2 separate regions of the Homo sapiens genome follow, and region 2 is linked to region 1. The links are contacts of gene promoters, found by promoter capture Hi-C in human tissues and cell types (Jung and others, 2019). All regions are on one chromosome and are shown on one strand. The core of a region is centred on a gene start or on the middle of the fragment in contact, and the rest is flanking DNA. Distances in the headings are between cores, read along the strand shown. Region 1 holds the start of PHYHD1 (phytanoyl-CoA dioxygenase domain containing 1). Region 2 holds the start of SET (SET nuclear proto-oncogene).

Region 1 (6,246 bases), core at 3,747-6,246:
CTGGGGATCAGAAAAGATGCTGAGATCTTGGGGAGAGAGGGAAGGGAAGCCCAGAGGCCCCGTCCAAGCCCACACCCACCTCACTCTCACCCCTGCTTTTTTCCCTCCAGATCGAGACGCTCCCTCCGGAGCTCTTCCAGTGCCGGAAGCTGCGGGCCCTGCACCTGGGCAACAACGTGCTGCAGTCACTGCCCTCCAGGGTGGGCGAGCTGACCAACCTGACGCAGATCGAGCTGCGGGGCAACCGGCTGGAGTGCCTGCCTGTGGAGCTGGGCGAGTGCCCACTGCTCAAGCGCAGCGGCTTGGTGGTGGAGGAGGACCTGTTCAACACACTGCCACCCGAGGTGAAGGAGCGGCTGTGGAGGGCTGACAAGGAGCAGGCCTGAGCGAGGCCGGCCCAGCACAGCAAGCAGCAGGACCGCTGCCCAGTCCTCAGGCCCGGAGGGGCAGGCCTAGCTTCTCCCAGAACTCCCGGACAGCCAGGACAGCCTCGTGGCTGGGCAGGAGCCTGGGGCCGCTTGTGAGTCAGGCCAGAGCGAGAGGACAGTATCTGTGGGGCTGGCCCCTTTTCTCCCTCTGAGACTCACGTCCCCCAGGGCAAGTGCTTGTGGAGGAGAGCAAGTCTCAAGAGCGCAGTATTTGGATAATCAGGGTCTCCTCCCTGGAGGCCAGCTCTGCCCCAGGGGCTGAGCTGCCACCAGAGGTCCTGGGACCCTCACTTTAGTTCTTGGTATTTATTTTTCTCCATCTCCCACCTCCTTCATCCAGATAACTTATACATTCCCAAGAAAGTTCAGCCCAGATGGAAGGTGTTCAGGGAAAGGTGGGCTGCCTTTTCCCCTTGTCCTTATTTAGCGATGCCGCCGGGCATTTAACACCCACCTGGACTTCAGCAGAGTGGTCCGGGGCGAACCAGCCATGGGACGGTCACCCAGCAGTGCCGGGCTGGGCTCTGCGGTGCGGTCCACGGGAGAGCAGGCCTCCAGCTGGAAAGGCCAGGCCTGGAGCTTGCCTCTTCAGTATTTGTGGCAGTTTTAGTTTTTTGTTTTTTTTTTTTTAATCAAAAAACAATTTTTTTAAAAAAAAAGCTTTGAAAATGGATGGTTTGGGTATTAAAAAGAAAAAAAAAACTTAAAAAAAAAAAGACACTAACGGCCAGTGAGTTGGAGTCTCAGGGCAGGGTGGCAGTTTCCCTTGAGCAAAGCAGCCAGACGTTGAACTGTGTTTCCTTTCCCTGGGCGCAGGGTGCAGGGTGTCTTCCGGATCTGGTGTGACCTTGGTCCAGGAGTTCTATTTGTTCCTGGGGAGGGAGGTTTTTTTGTTTGTTTTTTGGGTTTTTTTGGTGTCTTGTTTTCTTTCTCCTCCATGTGTCTTGGCAGGCACTCATTTCTGTGGCTGTCGGCCAGAGGGAATGTTCTGGAGCTGCCAAGGAGGGAGGAGACTCGGGTTGGCTAATCCCCGGATGAACGGTGCTCCATTCGCACCTCCCCTCCTCGTGCCTGCCCTGCCTCTCCACGCACAGTGTTAAGGAGCCAAGAGGAGCCACTTCGCCCAGACTTTGTTTCCCCACCGCCTGCGGCATGGGTGTGTCCAGTGCCACCGCTGGCCTCCGCTGCTTCCATCAGCCCTGTCACCACCTGGTCCTTCATGAAGAGCAGACACTTAGAGGCTGGTCGGGAATGGGGAGGTCGCCCCTGGGAGGGCAGGCGTTGGTTCCAAGCCGGTTCCCGTCCCTGGCGCCTGGAGTGCACACAGCCCAGTCGGCACCTGGTGGCTGGAAGCCACCCTGCTTTAGATCACTCGGGTCCCCACCTTAGAAGGGTCCCCGCCTTAGATCAATCACGTGGACACTAAGGCACGTTTTAGAGTCTCTTGTCTTAATGATTATGTCCATCCGTCTGTCCGTCCATTTGTGTTTTCTGCGTCGTGTCATTGGATATAATCCTCAGAAATAATGCACACTAGCCTCTGACAACCATGAAGCAAAAATCCGTTACATGTGGGTCTGAACTTGTAGACTCGGTCACAGTATCAAATAAAATCTATAACAGAAAGTGGCCTTTGGAGGTCTTTGTGTCATGGGAGGACGCTTCCCTCACTTCTCTGAAGCCTGCCGGGCCGTGTGGAACGTTGCTTGGGCACCTACAGGAGAGTTAACTCTGCTCATCTCCTGCCCCATGAGACTCTGTGCCTTTGGAGGCAGTTACTGGAGCTTGTAAGCTGGACGCAGCACCTGCTAGGTAACAGGCTGTGACCTGGGCTGGGGATCCCATAGCCAGCACAATCTCTGTCATCCTACTCACCTGTGGTTGGGCACTCATGAGGGGGTTTTTTTGTTGTTGTTGTTTTTTTGACAGGGTCTCATTCTGTCACCTAGAGTGCACTGCTGGAATATAGTGGCGTGATCACGGCTCACTGCAGCCTTGACCTCTCCAGGCTCAGGTGATCTCACCTCGGCCTCCCAAGTAGCTAGGACCACAGGGGCATGCTGGCTAATTTTTTTTTTTTTTTTTTTTTTTTGAGACAGAGTCTTACTCTGTCACCCAGGCTGGAATGCAGTGGCTCGATCTCGGCTCACTGCAACCTCCGCCTCCCAGGTTCAAGTGATTCTCTTGCCTCAGCCTCACGAGTAGCTGGGACTACAGGTGCCTGCCACCATGCCCAGCTAATTTTTGTATTTTTAGTAGAGACAGGGTTTCACCATGTTGGCCAGGCTGGTCTTGATCTCCTGACCTTCTGATCCACCTACCTCAGCCTCCCAAAATGCTGGGATTACAGACATGAGCTACTGCGCCCAGCCGTGCTGGCTAATTTTTGTATTTTTTGTAGGGACGGGGTTTTGCCATGTTGCCCAGGTTGGTCTCGAATCCCTGAGCTCAAGAGATCCACCCACCTCAGCCTCCTAAAGTGCTGGGATTATAGGCGTGAGCCACCGTGCTTGGCCCCTCATGAGTTTTGATGGGTGGGGATGGGAGAGGAGGGCACTGGAATGGGAACCAGTAGTCCTGGGCCTTTGTCCCAGCTTCATGGGACAGGATGTGCATGAAGCTAGGCAGATCCCTTCTCCAGTGGCCTCTGTATCCCCATGTGGACAATGGGAATTTCCACTCTGTGCTCTCAAAGGTCCCTTGCAATTCCAACAGTGAGTCCCAAGTGGTCTACAGAGGTGGGGCTGAGAGTCATCGTGGGGAAGCCTGCCTCAGCTCCCAGCCCCTTTGGGGGCCTTTGGGAGGTAGTGTGGTAAAGGGCAGAGGCTGAGACAGCTGCTTCCAGATGCCAGTTCTGCCGTGTTTGATGTGGGGCTTCAGTGTTCTCATTTGTAAAATCAGGAAGGTAATGGCACACTTGCAGGACTGTTCAAGGAACAATGGCGATTATGTAGGTAGATGGGGTTTTTGGTGGAGGACCTGGCTGCTAGTACCCAATAAATGGCCTTGTATCTTCCACCCAGACCAAGGATCCTTGTGGTGGGCCAACGTGGGCGCCCTGCGGCAGGAGACTGGGTGAGGAAGAAAGGCCATCATATCTGACTTTGACCTTAGTGATGAGGCCTGGGTGGCTGCTTGGGCACCTCCTCTACAACTGGACAGAGTCTATCCCTCCTCCCTCCACGGGGACTCTGACCCCTCCAGGTGAACTCAGGCCTGAGCCAAGATTCCCTCCCTCTTCTCCCCCTGCCATGGGCTGACAGGCTGAGCAGCTGGACTGTGACTGCCGGGCTGGGGCCTTCTTTTCTGTTTCCGTGGTGGAGGTCCCTCCCCCAGTTTGGTACCCTTCCCACCACCCCCCGACCCCACTCCCGCCCCCACCCTGGCCTTGAGGCTGTCCAGCGCCTGGAGCAGGAGAGTTCGATCTGGAGCTGGTTTACATTTGGAAAAAACCACCATGTAGAAACACCGCCCACCCACTTCCCAAAGTTGAGCAGAATGAACAGTTAGTGGGAGGCTGGGCCTCTCCCCTCCCCCTCCCCCACCCACCCAGGGCTCTCCACTCTGCCTAAAACCACTGTGGTGGTCTTCTCTCTGATTGTAACAGCAATTTTGGAAGCTCAAAAAAATTGTTTAAATTATATTCCACCCAGCTGGGCGCGGTGGCTCACGCCTGTAATCCCAGCACTTTGGGAGGCCGAGGCAGGCAGATCACAAGGTCAGGAGATTGAGACCATCCTGGCTAACGCGGTGAAACCCCATCTCTACTAAAAAATATAAAAAATTAGCCAGGCGTGGTGGCAGGCGCCTGTAGGCCCAGCTACTGGGGAGGCTGAGGCAGGAGAATGGCGTGAACCCGGGAGGCGGAGCTTGCAGTGAGCTGAGATTGCGCCACTGCACTCCAGCCTGGGTGACAGAGCGAGACTCCATCTCAAAAAAAATAAATAAAATAAAAAATAAATAAATAAATAATATTCCACTCAGAACAGCCCCTGCTAACATTTGGTGAACAACTTGTTCACCAGTTGGTAGGCACTTACTCAGCGCCAGGCCTGGTGCCAAGCTCTTTATCAGCTGCGAAGCATTCATCTTATTTACTGCTCACAGGGGATCCTACTGCTAGCCCCAAATTACAGACTGGGAAAGTAAGGCCTGAACATCTGGGACGCAAACACAGTCTGCTTCACTGAGTCTCTACTACAAGCCTTCTGTGGGGGCTCCCAGGGGAATGGCTGGCCCAGTCCGAGGGGACCTCAGTGTTCTTGGCACATGGTAGGCATCTGTCTTTGTTGGGCAGTTGCATCAGAAGGGTTAAGGACAGCTGGGAACACATCCTGCCTCTAGTGAACCTCGTGGTTCTGTCATCTGCCTGCCCCTCACCCAGCCTAACCCCTCTGAACCAGGAGCCTGAGCTGCACTTACTGCTCCCCCCTGCCCCCCGGACGGCCTGGACCAAGCAGCAGCTCCCAGAGCGGTGGCCCAGCAAACACGACTTGACTCGAGGCCAAGGCTCTTGAGGGCTGAGCAGTGTCCCCATGCACACTCCTGAAACACTTTGTCCCTTCGCCATTCAGAAGGCATCATTTTGGGGAAGGCAGCAGCCGGTTTTTCAGAGCCAGCGAGTGGCCCTGCCAGCTGCTGAGCAGGGCAAGCTGAGAAGGGTGGTGGTGTGCAAGTGTTATTCTCTCTTTTTGTTTTTGTTTTTGTTTTTTGAGATGGAGTCTTACTCTGTCGTCCAGGCTGGAGTGAGTGCCGTGGCATGATCTCGGCTCACTGCAACCTCCGCCTCCTGGGTTCAAGCGATTCTCCTGCCTCAGCCTCCCGAGTAACTGGGACTACAGGCACCTGCCACCATGCTCGGCTAGTTTTTGGTATTTTTATTTATTATTTATTTATTTATTTTGAGACCGAGTCTCGCTCTGTCGCCCAGGCTCTAGTGCAGTGGCCCAATCTCGGCTCACTGCAAGCTCCGCCTCCCGCGTTCACGCCATTCTCCTGCCTCAGCCTCGCGAGCAGCTGGGACTACAGGTGCCCGCCACCACGCCCGGCTAATTTTTTGTATTTTTAGTAGAGACGGGGTTTCACCGTGTTAGCCAGGATGGTCTCGATTTCCTGACCTCGTGATCCGCGCGCCTCTGCCTCCAAAGTGCTGGGATTACAGGCCCGAGCCGCCGCACCCGGCCTGCAGGTGTTGTTCTGACCCCAGCTCCACTGTGCCAGCCCGACTTGAGATGCCAAGTATCTTGGGCCTGAGGGTGGGTAACAGGAAGCATCTCTCTCTCCTCAGCCCCTTCCTCCTACTAAGATACCCCATGTCTCCTACTTTCGTCTGAGCTGCAGATGGATGCGTTAATTCCCTTCCATAATCCTCCCAGGACCGAGAGGGTTTCAGATCGGTGCTGGGAGGGGCCCAGATAGTTCTCCCCAGGACCTCTTCCACCTTTGGAATGCCCATTACCTGGAGAAGGGGGGTGCCGCACATCCCCCAGACCAACCCTGCATCCCATTCTATCCAGATTGAGGCCTAGAGAGAGGCAGGCGTTCCTCAGAGTCACAGGGAATGGCGGCGCCTGGACTGGGACTCAGCCCAGCTGCTTGGCCTGACCCTCTCACAGCATAATTTCCCGGCACCTGGTAAGCAGTGGTGGGGGGTGGTTTCCAGAAGAAACACAGAGGAAGCAGATAAAATCCTTGGAGATGGGAAAGGGCAAATCCTGGATTAGTTGTGGGGGTGGGGGAGATTAGCCTGGAGGTCACAGGCTGATCTGGCTGTGTCTAGGGAAGGAGGGTTGGGTGGTGGGACCGGGTTTTCTCCGGG
Region 2 (6,246 bases), core at 2,642-5,141, 230 kb before region 1:
GTGGGGGTGTGGTTTACTGAGGAATGTTCCAAGCTTAGGTGAGGCAACAGCACGTGTTTAAATCTTTTGGAGGCCAAAGGAAAAAAAAAAGAGGATAAGTTCTCAGTAGGGGCAGGCCTGTCTACCTGGGGGTTTGGGAACGAACTGGGGGATAGGCTGCGGGGGTTTCACGTGAAACCAGGAGGTCTAGAAAGCACAGGGATCCTCTCCTCAAGGAAGAACTTGCCCCCTCCCCCAAAGCCAAGAGTGCCCCTGCAGAGCGAGGCAGAGAGCAACTAAAAGAAATTTCTCCTGATTGGAGGGTGGGTGGGATGAGGCTGGGGGAGGGGGCCGGGGTGTGTGTCCCACTGTCATGTAAATATCCCTTCCAGGCAGGGCGGCTCCAGTGCAGATTTAAGCCGCTGGCACCTGGGGCAGTCTCAGTGTTCAGCCTGCTTCCGGACGGGCGAGGAGACTCGTGGTCTGGTTCTGGGACTTCCCTAACAGCATGGCCCCTAAACGCCAGTCTCCACTCCCGCCTCAAAAGAAGAAACCAAGACCACCTCCTGCTCTGGGACCGGAGGAGACATCGGCCTCTGCAGGCTTGCCGAAGAAGGGAGGTACGTTTCTGCGCTAAGTTTTATTGGAGATTTAAGGGATTTGCAAGGATTGACTCTCTGATTTTTACCCCCCAATCCCTCTTGAGATGTGACCCCTAAGCACCCCCAAAGGGTTTTAAACCTGGGATGGTGGATTAAGTTTGCGTGAAGAACCAGAAGGGACTAGACTGGGAGAACGGGAGTGCACGGGAGCTCATCCCTGCCCCCAACTCAACACTGACCCCTGAGCTTGTCTCCCCAGCCCCCAAACTTCCTCCTCTGGGGCTCCCTTTCTTGGCAAGGGGCACTGCCAGCCAGCCTGAGGCCCCTCCTTCACCCCTCCACATCCAGCCAAATCCCCGATTCCTGGTGGTTCTACCTCAGTATCTCTCAGATCTGTCCACCTCTCTCTCTGTTCTTGCTGCCGACGGCGGCCCACAACTCTGGCCTGAATCTCTGCCACCTCCTCATCTTGGCTTCCAGCTTCCTCCTCCTCCCCTTCAGCCTGAGCATAGCCAATCACGTGGCCCACTCCCCGGCTTAAACCCCTCCCTTGCCTCCCCGCGTCCTCCAGGTGCTCAGAAACTTCTCTGGCCCGCCAACCCGGTCCCCGCCGACCTCTCCTGGTTCACACTTCTGAGACTCCCCACCTGGAGGCCTCCCTCAAGGTGGTACCCTTCACCTTGACCTCTTGGGACTCTACCCTCTGATCTCGGGGCCTAGACACCCACTTGCCCTTTCCTCTCCTTACCTGTGCACCACCTCCAGCTCTCTGCTGGAAAGTCACTTCCTGTGGGCAATCTGTGAGCCCCAACACTTGGGAGTTAGGAGTCCCAGAGTCATGCTGCCTCACCCTCTTGTCATTACATTGTAACCAGCAGTTTCATGCCTGCCCTTCCCCCCATTAAACTTAGAGGTGAGGGCTGCATTTTGGGAGACGTAGCTGGAGCTGGATAGAGAGTTGACTGTTCTGGTGACTAGGTCTGGCTCATAGGGGAGGGTTGTGGTGGAGCCTTCCTGGGCTGGGTGTGGATAGGCCCAGGGCCTGCAAGGAAACGGGAAGCTTTGATTGGCTGAGGGCAGGCAACTCTTATGGAAGAAGCACTGAGGAGGAGTCCTACCTCAGGGCTCAGTGTGGACCTGTTGGCACTTTTACTGGGTCTCAGTCCCTTTTCCTCCACATGGGATGCAGAGACCTCCTGCCCAGCTTGAAACCTACCTTGCTGGGTGAGCCACATAAAACAACTTGTGCTTGTTTTCTCTTCTATAAAATGGGATCCACAGTACTGATCTCCAGGCTTGCTGTGAGTCTGAAATCTAAGGGGAGCACTAGACAGCGCCTAGCACATCATCAGTGCTCTAGAGTGCATTTGTGCGCAGCAAAATGTGGGTGAGTCTTCCTAGTTTCCTTCCAGTGAGCTTCCTGGGAGCATTAACAGGACTGGAAGGGATGGAAAGGTGTGAGGGGGTTCATCTAAACCCAAAGAACAGCTCCTGCTGCTTAGTAGGCACTGATGGCATGCCAGAAGCTGTGCCAAGCACTTCTCTATCCTCACAGCCGTATGCTGTGGACATCCCAATTTTACAGATCAGAACAGGAGGCTCAAAGAGATGTGTATGTGTCTGTGGCGGGGGAGATGTTCCAGGCTCTGGAGATTTTTTGGTCTGTGCTTGGGACACTGCAGCACTGTGGGGGAATGCCAGCCTCTCTCTGTTCCAGTCTTTCTGGCGGTGGGGTTCTGTCCTCTTCAAAGGGAGCCGGGGGCCGGGCGCGGTGGCTGACGCCTGTAATCCCAGCACTTTGGGAGGCCGAGGTGGGCAGATCACCTGAGGTCAGAAGTTCAAGACCAGCCTGGCCAACATGGCTAAACCCCATCTCTACCAAAGACAGTTAGCCAGGCGTGACGATGCATGCCTGTAATCCCAGCTACTTGGGGGGCTAAGGCAGGAGAATTGCTTGAACTCCGGAGGCGGAGGTTGCAATGAGCCGAGTTCGTGCCATTGCACTCCAGCCTGGGCGACAAGAACAACAACAACAACAACAAAAAAAAAAACAACCAGAGGGGCCAGGAGGAGAGGAGAGAGGCAAGGGAGGAATTCTGAGTGAGGGGAGAGGCCAAGAAGAGAGAATGCAGAGCTTCTGGTGTTGGAGACGGGGAGAGAGCAGAGTCCTAAGAGTGGGTGAATAACCTCTCAGTGTGCCCCCGGCTCGCCTGTGTTTACTCACACCCCTGGCCCTTTTGCTTTCTCTTTCTCTTCAACTTCCTAGTGTGCTCATATTTATCTTGAGAAGCACTGTGTGGGGAAGGGCAGGAAAAGAGGGGCAGGGAGGTGGCAGGGAGGGTTGGGAGGCCAGAAAGGGAACCTGAAAGCCCACTCCCCCATCAGAAGGCATTACAGGGTTCCCTGGGACCCCTGCAGGTGCTTGGGAAACAGGCAGATAAGGCACTTAGGAGACATTGTGGGTCAGGAGTGACCCTATGGGTCAGGCTTTGAGGATGGAAGCAGCCAGCCCTTGGCATAGTGTTCTCAGACAGACTCAGCCCAGGAGCGGGTCGTGAAATCAATTTGGTGGGGTGTGACCTGCATTTTAAATAGGAAATTAGAATCACATCACCCTTGGTAAGGGTAAGTTTTGGTTTGTGTGTGCTAGGTCATGATGTCAAAAGTACTTCTGACTGTTGGTCACATTAAAAAAACTGAGGCAGGGTGCGATGGCTAACTCTTGTAATCCCAGAGCTCTGGAAGGCTGAGGCTGAAGGATGGTTTGAGCTCAGGAGTTTGAGACCAGCCTGGGCAACATGGTGATACCTCCTCTCTACAAAAGATAAAAACAAAATTAGCCAGGCAAGGTGGCAGTGGTGCTTGCCTGTGGTCCCAGCTACTCAGAAGGCTGAGGTGTAAGAATCCCCAGAGCCCAGGAGGTCAAGGCTGCAGTGAGCCATGGTTCTGGGCGACAGAGAGAGACCCTGTCTCATAATAATAACAACAATAAAAATAGAAAAACTGTTTTAAGGTAAGGGCTTTGTCAATTGCTACTTGGTTTAGAATCTTGGTTCTGTCACTTGCAACAAAGTTTAGTTTATGCTAGGCACAGTGGGTGGCTCATGCCTGTAGTCCCAGCACTTTGGGAGGCCGAGGTGGGCAGATCACCTGAGGTCGGGAGTTCGAGACCAGCCTGGCCAACATGGTGAAACCCCGTCTCTACTAAAAAATACAAAAATTAGCTTGGCATGGTAGTGGGCGCCTGTAATCCCAGATACTCGGGAGGCTAAGACACTCACCGTGCACTGTCTTGAACATGAAAGATGCTGCTTGAGCTTTAAGAGCTGATAGTGGGCCGAGCTCAGTGGCTCATGCCTGTAATCTCAGCACTTTGGGAGGCAGAGGCAGGTGGATCACCTGAGGTCAGGAGTTTGAGACCAGTCTGGCCAACATGGTGAAAACCTGTCTCTACCAAAAAATACAAAAATTAGCAGGGCGTGGTGACTCACATCTGTAATCCTAGCAACTCAGGATGCTGAGGCAGGAGAATCACTTGAACCCGGGAGGCGGAGGTTGCAGTGAGCTGAGATGGCACCACTGCACTCCAGCCTGGAAGACAGAATGAGACTTGGTCCCCTCCCCCACCAAAAAAAAAAAAAAAAAAAAAGAGCCAATGGTAAAGTGTGAGTTCTGGAAGGCAGAATTCCAACCCCAAGTTCTGGTTAAAAATGTCCAAAGAGAGATTTCAGGTATTTTTTTGTTTTTGTTTTAGAGATAGGGTCTTGCTCTGTCACTCAGGCTTCAGTGCAGTGGCTGCATTGGGGCTCATTGAAGCCTGGAATTCCTGGGCCCAAGCGATCCTCCTGCCTTGGCCTCCCAAAGTGTTGGGATAACAGGAGTGAGCTATTGCATGGCCAGGATTTGAAATTGGCCAGCGTATCACTAAAATCAACAAATGGTACTGGCCGGGCGCAGTGGCTCCCGCCTGTAATCCCAGCACTTTGGGAGGACGAGGTGAGTGGATCACCCCAGGTCAGTAGACCAGCCTGGCCAAGGTGGTGAAACTCCATCTCTACTAAAAATACAAAAATTAGCCGGGCATGGTGGCACGTGCCTGTAGCCCCAGCTACTCGGGAGGCCGAGGCAGGAGAATTGCTTGAACCCGAGAGGCAGAGCTTGCAGTGAGCCAAGATTGCGCCACTGCACTCCAGCCTGGGGGACAGAGCAAGACTCCCGTCTCAAAACAAACAAACAAATGCTACTAATCAGGGTTTTTCTGGCTTTTTATGGTTCATGTCTTGGGGTGCTGGAGGGACAGAATGTGGGGCATCCGCATTACTTGAAAAGTATTATTTAAACAAAATGCTTTGGCCCTCCTTAGTGGTTCAGAACTTTGCCTCTCAAGTAGAACTTGTTGGCCCCTTTCATCTCTATGAACAGAACACCGCCTATCGCTTGGGGCTGTTGTGAGGCCTCGGTGAGATAACCGTGCCATGCGCTGCTGAAACTGGCACTTAACGCTCAGTATGATTCTTGCGGGCGCTGGGCACCGCGGACTAATGTGGTACCTCCCTGCCTTCACAGGACTTCGAGTTTAATGTGGCTTCAGTGTCGTAACCTTTATCATTTCATAACAGAAACGGGTTCAGAGAGGAAGGGTGACTTGCTCAAGGGTACAAGCTTGCTGGGCAGGGCTTGGACTAAAACCCAGGAATGGCCCTGCGCGCGGATTACACAGCCTGGGGCTTCGCACACGAGCCCGAGTTTGAGTCCGATCGGCAGTTCCCCATCTGGCATCCAGAATGGGGTGCCCCCTGCTTTCTCCACGAAGTGGAAGGCGCCGAGAGGCCGGGCGGAATTCGGGGCCCCCATACGAGGCCGGGCCTGCACTTTCGGGGTGGTGGGCGCCCCGCTCCCGGTGCCCCGCGGAGCAGGGAAGCCGCTCGCTCACCACGTGACGCGCCGGCCGGGGGCACCCGCGCCTCCGTGCGACGCCCCGCCCACCGGCCTGCCGCGCGCCAGTGTCCTGGGTCGGGCCGGAGAGGGGAGAGCGGGGGAGGGGACGCGGCGCGGGGGGCGGCCGTGCGTCGCCGCGCGCCTTCCTCCCACCTCTCGCCGGGCCCTGTGTCTCCGCGCCGCGACTCCGCCCCCTCATCCCGCCGCCCAGGCCAATGGCGCCGCGGCGCGAGCCTCCCCGGCCGGAGGCGGAGCATCCGCGCGGGGCCTGGCGCGCCTGCGCCCTGCGCCCGCCCCTCGCCGTAGGAGGAGGTGGAGGAGGAGGCGGCTCGGGAGAGCGAGCAGCGAGCTGGCTGGATCGCCGAGCGCGAGTGAGGGAGCCGAGCCGCCCGCCGCCGCCGCCTCCGCCTCCCCTCCGCGAACAGGAGCCCGGGCCGGGGCCCGGCACGCCGCCCCAGCCCGTCCCTCGGCGTCAGGCCGCGAGGGTAGCGCGCGCGAGCGAGCGAGGGGGAGGGAGAGCGAGCGAGCGCCGGGAGGAGGCGGCCGGACCGAGCGGGCGCCCGCGCGTGTGGCGTGAGGGGAAGCCGCTTGCCCGCCCCCTTCGCCTTCCCTTCTCTCCCCCTCCCCGCTCCCCCCCCGACCGCGGAGCAGCACCATGTCGGCGCCGGCGGCCAAAGTCAGTAAAAAGGAGCTCAACTCCAACCACGACGGGGCCGACGAGACCTCA

The links. Contacts are between HindIII fragments. The study calls those that stand out against the background at their distance.
Region 2: a fragment that was not itself captured here is called in contact with the fragment with the promoter of PHYHD1 in region 1 in 2 of the 25 tissues and cell types used here (dorsolateral prefrontal cortex and lymphoblastoid cells).

What each region holds. Positions count from the first base shown.
Region 1 is chr9:128,915,986-128,922,231 of GRCh38, forward strand. It overlaps PHYHD1 (phytanoyl-CoA dioxygenase domain containing 1), which reads left to right and starts at 4,997. Exons shown (of 13, transcript NM_001100876.2): 1 at 4,997-5,683; 2 at 5,945-6,062. LRRC8A (leucine rich repeat containing 8 VRAC subunit A) reads left to right here. Exons shown (of 4, transcript NM_019594.4): 4 at 111-2,054. The coding sequence ends at 386. LOC101929291 (a long non-coding RNA gene) reads right to left here and starts at 160. Exons shown (of 4, transcript XR_007061808.1): 1 at 80-160. The HindIII fragment of the contact is 13,888 bases long and covers 1-6,246 here.
Region 2 is chr9:128,683,409-128,689,654 of GRCh38, forward strand. It overlaps SET (SET nuclear proto-oncogene), which reads left to right and starts at 5,814. Exons shown (of 8, transcript NM_003011.4): 1 at 5,814-6,246. The coding sequence starts at 6,175. It also overlaps a transcript of DYNC2I2 not described here. RefSeq lists enhancers at 1-184, 185-822, 1,236-1,325, 2,661-2,760, 4,111-4,987 and 1 more and a silencer at 5,274-6,183. The HindIII fragment of the contact is 6,109 bases long and covers 838-6,246 here.